2 separate regions of the Homo sapiens genome follow, and region 2 is linked to region 1. Evidence: promoter capture Hi-C in 16 types of primary human blood cells and fetal thymus (Javierre and others, 2016). All regions are on one chromosome and are shown on one strand. The core of a region is centred on a gene start or on the middle of the fragment in contact, and the rest is flanking DNA. Distances in the headings are between cores, read along the strand shown. Region 1 holds the start of PCDHB16 (protocadherin beta 16). Region 2 overlaps LOC105378198 (a long non-coding RNA gene).

The links. Contacts are between HindIII fragments. The CHiCAGO score rates a contact against its expected background, and 5 or more counts as called.
Region 2: a fragment that was not itself captured here is called in contact with the fragment with the promoter of PCDHB16 in region 1 in 1 of 17 cell types (M1 macrophages); the score reaches 5.2 in M1 macrophages.

What each region holds. Positions count from the first base shown.
Region 1 is chr5:141,180,129-141,184,053 of GRCh38, forward strand. It overlaps PCDHB16 (protocadherin beta 16), which reads left to right and starts at 2,259. Exons shown (of 1, transcript NM_020957.4): 1 at 2,259-3,925. The coding sequence starts at 2,432. PCDHB8 (protocadherin beta 8) reads left to right here. Exons shown (of 1, transcript NM_019120.5): 1 at 1-411. The coding sequence ends at 312. It also overlaps PCDHB@. The HindIII fragment of the contact is 3,641 bases long and covers 1-2,398 here.
Region 2 is chr5:140,734,789-140,738,713 of GRCh38, forward strand. All of the region lies in intron 3 of LOC105378198 (a long non-coding RNA gene), which reads left to right. Among named protein-coding and RNA genes, the nearest start is that of ZMAT2, 36 kb to the left of the region's middle. The HindIII fragment of the contact is 5,793 bases long and covers 1-3,925 here.

The DNA of each region.
Region 1 (3,925 bases), core at 1,009-3,508:
TCTTCGCTCTTCCTCTTCTCGGTGCTCCTGTTCGTGGCGGTGCTGCTGTGTAGGAGGAGCAGGGCGGCCTCGGTGGGTCGCTGCTCAGTGCCTGAGGGCCCCTTTCCAGGGCATCTGGTGGACGTGAGGGGCACCGGGAGCCTGTCTCAGAACTATCAGTACGAGGTGTGCCTGGCAGGAGGCTCAGGGACGAATGAGTTCCAGCTCCTGAAACCAGTATTACCTAATATTCAGGGCCATTCTTTTGGGCCAGAAATGGAACAAAACTCTAACTTTAGGAATGGCTTTGGTTTCAGCCTTCAGTTAAAGTAATTGATTTCATATTATATATTTTAATTTTTATGATCAATTCAAAGGAATGGTTTTCTGTCAACTTAGCATAAATTTTAAATTACACTACATTTGCCCATAGTATTTGTCTTGTTTTCACTGTTTTAAAAAATGATATCTCATCTTCTCTTCATTAGTATATCCAGTGGACTCTAATCATAATTCTTTAACAGTGCAATTTTTGTTAAAATGTACATAGTAAAATGCACAGATCTGAAGTGAAGAAATTAATGTAACTGATCTTTTTAAGCCTTTATTTTTTGATTTCTAATCTAGGTAAAATTTAGTTAAAAGTGGTGTAGAGAATGTTTTACATTTATTGCCTTTTAAATGTTTCCCCAAGTCCTAAGGGAGTTGACATATTATCCCCTTTTTTAAATATGAGAAAACTGAGGCTTAGAAAGGTAACTTGGCTGTGAGCTGTGGCTCACACCTGTAATCATAACACTTTGAGAGGCTGAGGCAAGCTGAACCCTTTGAGCTCAGTAGTTCGAGACCAGCCTGGGCAATGGGGCAAAACACTGACACTAACAAAAATACAAAAATTAGCCAGGTGTGATTGCGAACCTGTAGTCCCAGCTACTCAGGAGGCTGAGGTAAGAGGATCCCCTGAGCCCAGGAGACAGAGACTACAGTGAGCCAAGATTGTGCCATTGCACTCCAGGCTGGGTGACAGAGTGAGACCTCATTCCCCCCCACAAAAAACGATTAACTTTCTTATAATTCTGAAATAATAAAGGTAAAAATTTAAAATATAATCTAAGTCTAGCCAATATGCTATATGGTCAGGCATTAACTGATAGCATTGTTTTTCTAACTAAGGAAGTGAAATTTATGTTATTCCTACTCCTACTCCATGAACTAAACTCTCATGTGAAAATATAAGTTTTAGTTTATAGTTTGTTTATACTACTCTGCACAAATATACCCATGTTCTTATCAAAGCTCTAAGTATGCTGGGACAGATACTACAAATGAACTTTATGATGAGCGAATTAACCTGATTTATAGTCCTGTACTTTCTCTACGTGCCATATCCATTATTAAAGAAATGAGTCTAAGTAGGAAGTAGAGTTAACCTATAGTTTCATTTCTTGAATTTCTTATTCTCTTTCTTCAGTCTTTTTCAGTTAACCTACACACACACACACACACACACACACACACACACACACACACATATGTTTATAAGTGGGATGGGAGAACGGGTACGGTGATAATTAAAAGAGGTAAGGTTTCTCTTGAGATGAAAATGTTCTAAAATTGTGATGGCGGATGCACACCTCTGAATATATTAAAAGCCATTGAAATGAAAAAAGGGTGGGGGGAATCCAAAAGTGTAGCAGACCCAACCTTGAGATTTGCTTGTTTGGGAATGAATTTTCCAATAACTTGAAAGTTGTAAAAACTCACACTTCTCAGGGTTAGGTGTCAGAAAGAAAAGGAAGTAATTTATTCTTTAATAAAGCAATTGTTAAATACTCTTTAGAACTACCACTGATTGCAATTTTGCAGTGTCTACTCATAGTGTCTATATAGGTACCATGAAAAAGATGTACTTGTGAAACTGTTCTCATGTTACTTCAGAAAAATTTTGCTTCTAAGTGTGTATTCTATGTCTGGTTAAATGTTCATTGAATTTTATTTAATCATTAATCTCAACAGCATTAAACAGTCAATAACATAAATGACAGTCTTCTCTTTGTACTCCTCCCTGTACAACATCACAGAGCTCCATCTGTATACACGAAAGTCACATGAAAATAGAACTCAGTGTTTTGTATTACATAGTCTATTCAGTACATTTAGAAGTATTTTGCCTCCAATATTCAACCACAGTAAAAGACTCAGTGAGAACGCGTGGTGGCGCTGCAGGTTAAGATGACGGAAAATACAACTGCCTACGCAGCTCCAGGATCCAGCAAACCGTTTCCCAAAGCCTGGAAGCAGAAGAATAGCTGAGCCAGAGCGAACGTGAGTGTGAAACCTCTTTAAGACACCGTTGGGCTGCTTGGTTCTGACATTCTGGACTGCAAAACAGTTCTACTAGGATCCTGGGGATACATGAAGCTTCTGTGAACCAACTTTTCAAGAAAAAGCAATGGAGATTGGATGGATGCACAATCGGAGACAAAGGCAAGTCCTTGTTTTCTTTGTTTTGCTGAGCTTGTCTGGGGCGGGCGCCGAGTTGGGGTCCTATTCCGTAGTGGAAGAAACGGAGAGAGGCTCTTTTGTGGCAAATCTAGGAAAAGACCTGGGGTTGGGGTTGACAGAGATGTCCACCCGCAAGGCCAGGATCATTTCCCAGGGGAACAAACAGCATTTGCAGCTCAAGGCTCAAACTGGGGATTTGCTCATAAATGAGAAGCTAGATCGAGAGGAGCTATGCGGTCCCACTGAGCCTTGCATACTACATTTCCAAGTGTTAATGGAAAACCCTTTAGAAATATTTCAGGCTGAACTGAGGGTGATAGATATAAATGACCATTCTCCCATGTTCACTGAAAAGGAAATGATTCTAAAAATACCGGAAAACAGTCCTCTAGGAACTGAGTTCCCTCTGAATCATGCTTTGGACTTGGACGTAGGAAGCAATAATGTTCAAAACTATAAAATCAGCCCAAGCTCTCATTTCCGGGTTCTAATCCATGAATTCAGAGATGGCAGGAAATACCCTGAGCTAGTGTTGGATAAAGAGCTGGATCGGGAGGAGGAGCCTCAACTAAGATTAACCCTGACAGCGCTGGATGGTGGCTCTCCACCGCGATCTGGAACTGCTCAGGTCCGTATTGAAGTGGTGGACATCAATGATAACGCTCCTGAGTTTGAGCAGCCCATCTACAAAGTGCAGATTCCAGAGAACAGTCCTCTTGGCTCCCTGGTTGCCACCGTCTCCGCCAGGGATTTAGACGGCGGAGCCAATGGAAAAATATCATACACACTCTTTCAGCCTTCGGAGGATATTAGTAAAACTTTGGAGGTAAATCCTATGACAGGGGAAGTTCGACTGAGAAAGCAAGTAGATTTCGAAATGGTTACGTCTTATGAAGTGCGCATCAAAGCCACAGATGGGGGAGGTCTTTCAGGAAAGTGCACTCTTCTCCTGCAGGTGGTGGACGTGAATGACAATCCCCCACAGGTGACCATGTCTGCACTCACCAGCCCCATCCCAGAGAACTCGCCTGAGATAGTAGTTGCTGTTTTCAGCGTTTCAGATCCTGACTCCGGAAACAATGGGAAGACGATTTCCTCCATCCAGGAAGACCTTCCCTTTCTTCTAAAACCTTCAGTCAAGAACTTTTACACCTTGGTAACGGAGAGAGCACTCGACAGAGAAGCAAGAGCTGAATATAATATCACCCTCACCGTCACAGATATGGGGACTCCAAGGCTGAAAACGGAGCACAACATAACAGTGCAGATATCAGATGTCAATGATAACGCCCCCACTTTCACCCAAACCTCCTACACCCTGTTCGTCCGCGAGAACAACAGCCCCGCCCTGCACATCGGCAGCGTCAGCGCCACAGACAGAGACTCGGGCACCAACGCCCAGGTCACCTACTCGCTGCTGCCGCCCCAAGACCCGCACCTG
Region 2 (3,925 bases), core at 915-3,414, 450 kb before region 1:
ACCTCCAAGTCCAAAATCCCTTTCCCAGAGCCTATAATCCTCACTTTAGAAAACATAGTTACCATGCTCCTTGTTAATCAAATACTCCATTACCTTAAAGAATACCCCCAGACTCTAGATAGTGACCCTCAGCAATTTGTATGGAATTTATGATTTCTCTCTTGGTTTAATTTTTTTATAACTAAAATGGACTCCTCTGTTTCACTCCTCACAATTTTAGTTTTATTGACCACTTCTGTTACCAAACCCACACCTTAACCCTTACCCTTTTGAGTAAAAGGTAATTTTACTATTCTTTTGAAAAGGTTTTTGTAGAGATTAGGTCTCAGTATATTGCCCAGGCTGGTCTCAAACTCTTGGGCTCAAGCAATTCTCCCACCTCAGCCTCCCAAAGTGCTGGAATTACAGGTATGAGCCACTGCACCAAACCAGAAAACTGAGTTTTAAAAAGATTAAGATTTTTATGTCTATGTAGCTTTCTCCTTAGATTCTGGGACTCCCACCCTTGCTACTGTACATAACCACTGAATGCCCAAAGAAAAAATATCAAACACTGACAACAGCTCCTCTTTGTTAGATATCATGCCTCTGCAGGCTTCTAGAAGGCTTGCAACAAAACCAGTTCGTGGTTCACTCACATAATAGATATCTTGTTCATAAATGAACGTATAAATTGGCATACCCTTGGAGGTATAACTTGTGCCCCTTGAGGACACACTTTCCTATATAGAATTGAGTCAGATCCCCCAGTTCAAGAAGAGGCACACAGATGCATAAACAGCTGGCAAGTTGAAGGACTTTGCCTTCTAGGTCATTACGTTGCCCTCTTTTCCATCCATCTCAATCATAAAGAAAATCTTGCTTTCCGGTAAGCTAAAAGAGAGCTACCAAGTGGATATCAGGATATGTGGTAGCATAGTTTTTGGGGTGTAATTTTTCTCAGCTACGGAGTATACACTAACAGAGATACGATAAAAAAAAATGCCGGCCACCATAGGACAAATTGCTGAAAATGCTGCAATAAGTATTATGACACAGTAGAAGTCCTTAAATTCTCTCGCTCAAGTGGTTTTAGACAATCAAATTGCACCAGGTTTTCTCATTGCTAAACAAGGGGGAATTTGCATGATAGCCCACACCACTTGTTGCACTTATATCAACATTATAGGAGATTTAACAACCCATGTAGGTAAGATCACCCAACAGGCTGCCTGGTTACAGGAGGTACAAACCACAGATCCCCTTAATAACGTTTTTAGCTGACTCATTGCAGTATTAGAAATTACTTCCAATCCATCTTACAAACCCTTGTCATTATCATATCACTATCTTGTTCCTATTTTTGATAGTCAAAGTACTTATAAGATCTATAACCAACTACTTCAAGTCTGTCACTAAAACCAAAGTTATGGTAGCACAATGCATAGAAATGACAGACAACATAAACATAAACTTACCTTCTCAACTTTTCTGTTGTTACTGTTTTTCTAGTCTCAAAGGTTCAAAGGGTCTTAATAGCTGTCTGCCTCCTTCTTGCCTGGCCTAAAATATTCAACTGGTTGTAAGTCTCCTAGCCACATGAGTCCCACTGACAGACTAGATAGACCTGGGGCAGGTATCCACACCATCCTGGGAACGACATGGGACATGTTAGAAAATTTAGCCATCAATGCTGCCTATGGCAGATTTCAGCCTAAAGCTGGAAAGTGTGAAATAAAACTAAAGTCCCTAAGCCCCTAGGTGAAACAGAATGGACTTCTTGTTGCAAAAGAGACCCCAGAAACTTTGAAAACTGCATTCTATGGCTTTGGCAAGGCAAGAGGTCAGTCACACCTCAACACTCCCCTACCTTGTTAACTGCCTCAAAACTTTCCTTCCTACAATTAAACAGAAACGAGTTCCTAAAAAACTGTCTGGAAGATTTCTCCCTCAACCTCAAGAGACCTCTTGATGTCATGGCTGACCTCCCCTCTTTTATCGTGGTTTCACCATGACTACTGACCAGCCTTATTAAACATTCCATTGTTATACTGACCACCGACCACAGACTGATTGCACCTAGTCCACAGAGGCTGTGCACAAGATGCCTTTGTGTTCTGTTTCACCTTGTTATATATAAACAGCCACGTGCCACTTCACTTTACTATTAAATCCCCACCCCAAAATGAACATGGAACATATGTAACATATATGTTTATTCTCTTTGCATGCATTAGGGTTTTCTCAAATATTCATAGATTCTCCTATAAGCTACTGAATATGTACATATAGCTCATCTTGTTGGGCATAAGTCCCAGCTTCTCCCTTTTGTCTCTGAAGCAGATGCTTTTCATTTTGGCTGGATGTTTCATTTCCCAACCTGCAGATTGTAACCATTTATAGGAAATAAAACTCTCTTTTTTCTTCTTCCTCAAATCTCATGATCTTTTGTTAATACTTCCCTTCCCAGCAGGGGGGATTATATGAGAAGACTGGACTTAGACCTCTACCCAGTGGTAATGTGGCCATCCTCACTGTGGTGTCAGGGGAGCCAGAACTTCCATGCTTACCCAGCAGTAACAATGAGCTCCCTTCTTCAGGTGGCAATGGAGGCTCTGTGGGGAACCTGGACTTCTGCCTGCACCTGGCAGTAATTAGGTGACATCTCCTTCTTTCTCTGTTCCCCCTTCTGCCTAAATGGTATCAGAGAAATCCCACTAAAACAGAAGGTTTAAATAGGATCCAGAGTAGCGGAATATAATATGAACATATCCAGGTTTTAATGAAAAGTTACTTATCATACCAGAAGATCTCAAACAGAATGAAAAAATGACAATCAACAGATGCCAACATTGTGATGACAGAGATATTAGAATTATCTGACAGAAATTTTAAATTAGCCATTGTAAAAATGCTTCAATAAGCAATTATAAACATTCTTGGAATAAATGAAAAATAGAATGCATAAGCAAAGAAATAGATGATAAAAGAAGAACTAAATGGAAATTTTAGAACTGAAAAATATAATAACTGAAATAAAAACCTCAGTGGATGGGGTGGGTGGGTTCAGCAGCATAATGGAGGAGGCAGAAAAAATAACAAGTGAACTAGAAGATAGAATAATAAAAATTATCCAACCTAAACAACAGAGAGAAATTAGACGGAAAAAAATGAATAGACTTTGATAAGTTGTGGACAGAGCAACCGCTAACATGTTATACAAAGAGATGCACTAAAAAACATAGTATTAACTCAAAATAGAATTTTAGAAAATATTAAAGTAAGATGAAGGCACGAAGAATAAAACAGAGAAGTGAAAATCCAAATGAACAGGAGGCCAGGTGCAGTGGCTCACACCTATAATCCCAGCATTTTGGGAGGCCGAGGTAGGAGGATCACTTGAGGCCAGAAGTTTGAGACCATCTTGGGTGACATAGTGAGACCTCGTCTCTACAAAAAAATAAAAATAAAAAAGCCCCAAAATGAACAATTAGTAAAATACAACATAGATTTCCTTTAGTAACAATTCTCCTCATATCCTTCCTTATTCTTCTTTTTATTCTTCTCTATGATTACCTATTAATGATGAAATACTAGATGTTTTACTTTCTATTTCTTCATAGGATTCCTCTGAATATATTTCTTTCTTTCTCTCTCTCTCTCTTTTTTTTTTTTTTTGAGACAGAGTCTCACTCTGCTGCCCAGGCTGGAGTACAGTGGTGCGATCTCAGCTCACTGCAACCTCTGTCTCCCAGGTTCAAGTGATTCTCATGCCTCAGTTTCGTGGGATTACAGGTGCACACCACCACTCCCGGCTAATTTTTGTATCAGTAGAGACAAAGTTTCACCATGTTGCCCAGGCTGGTGAACATGTTTCTTAATCGTATTCATCCTTTTTAGAATGACAGGGTGGCTTCTCAGAGGTACCATTGGGATCACCTCCAAG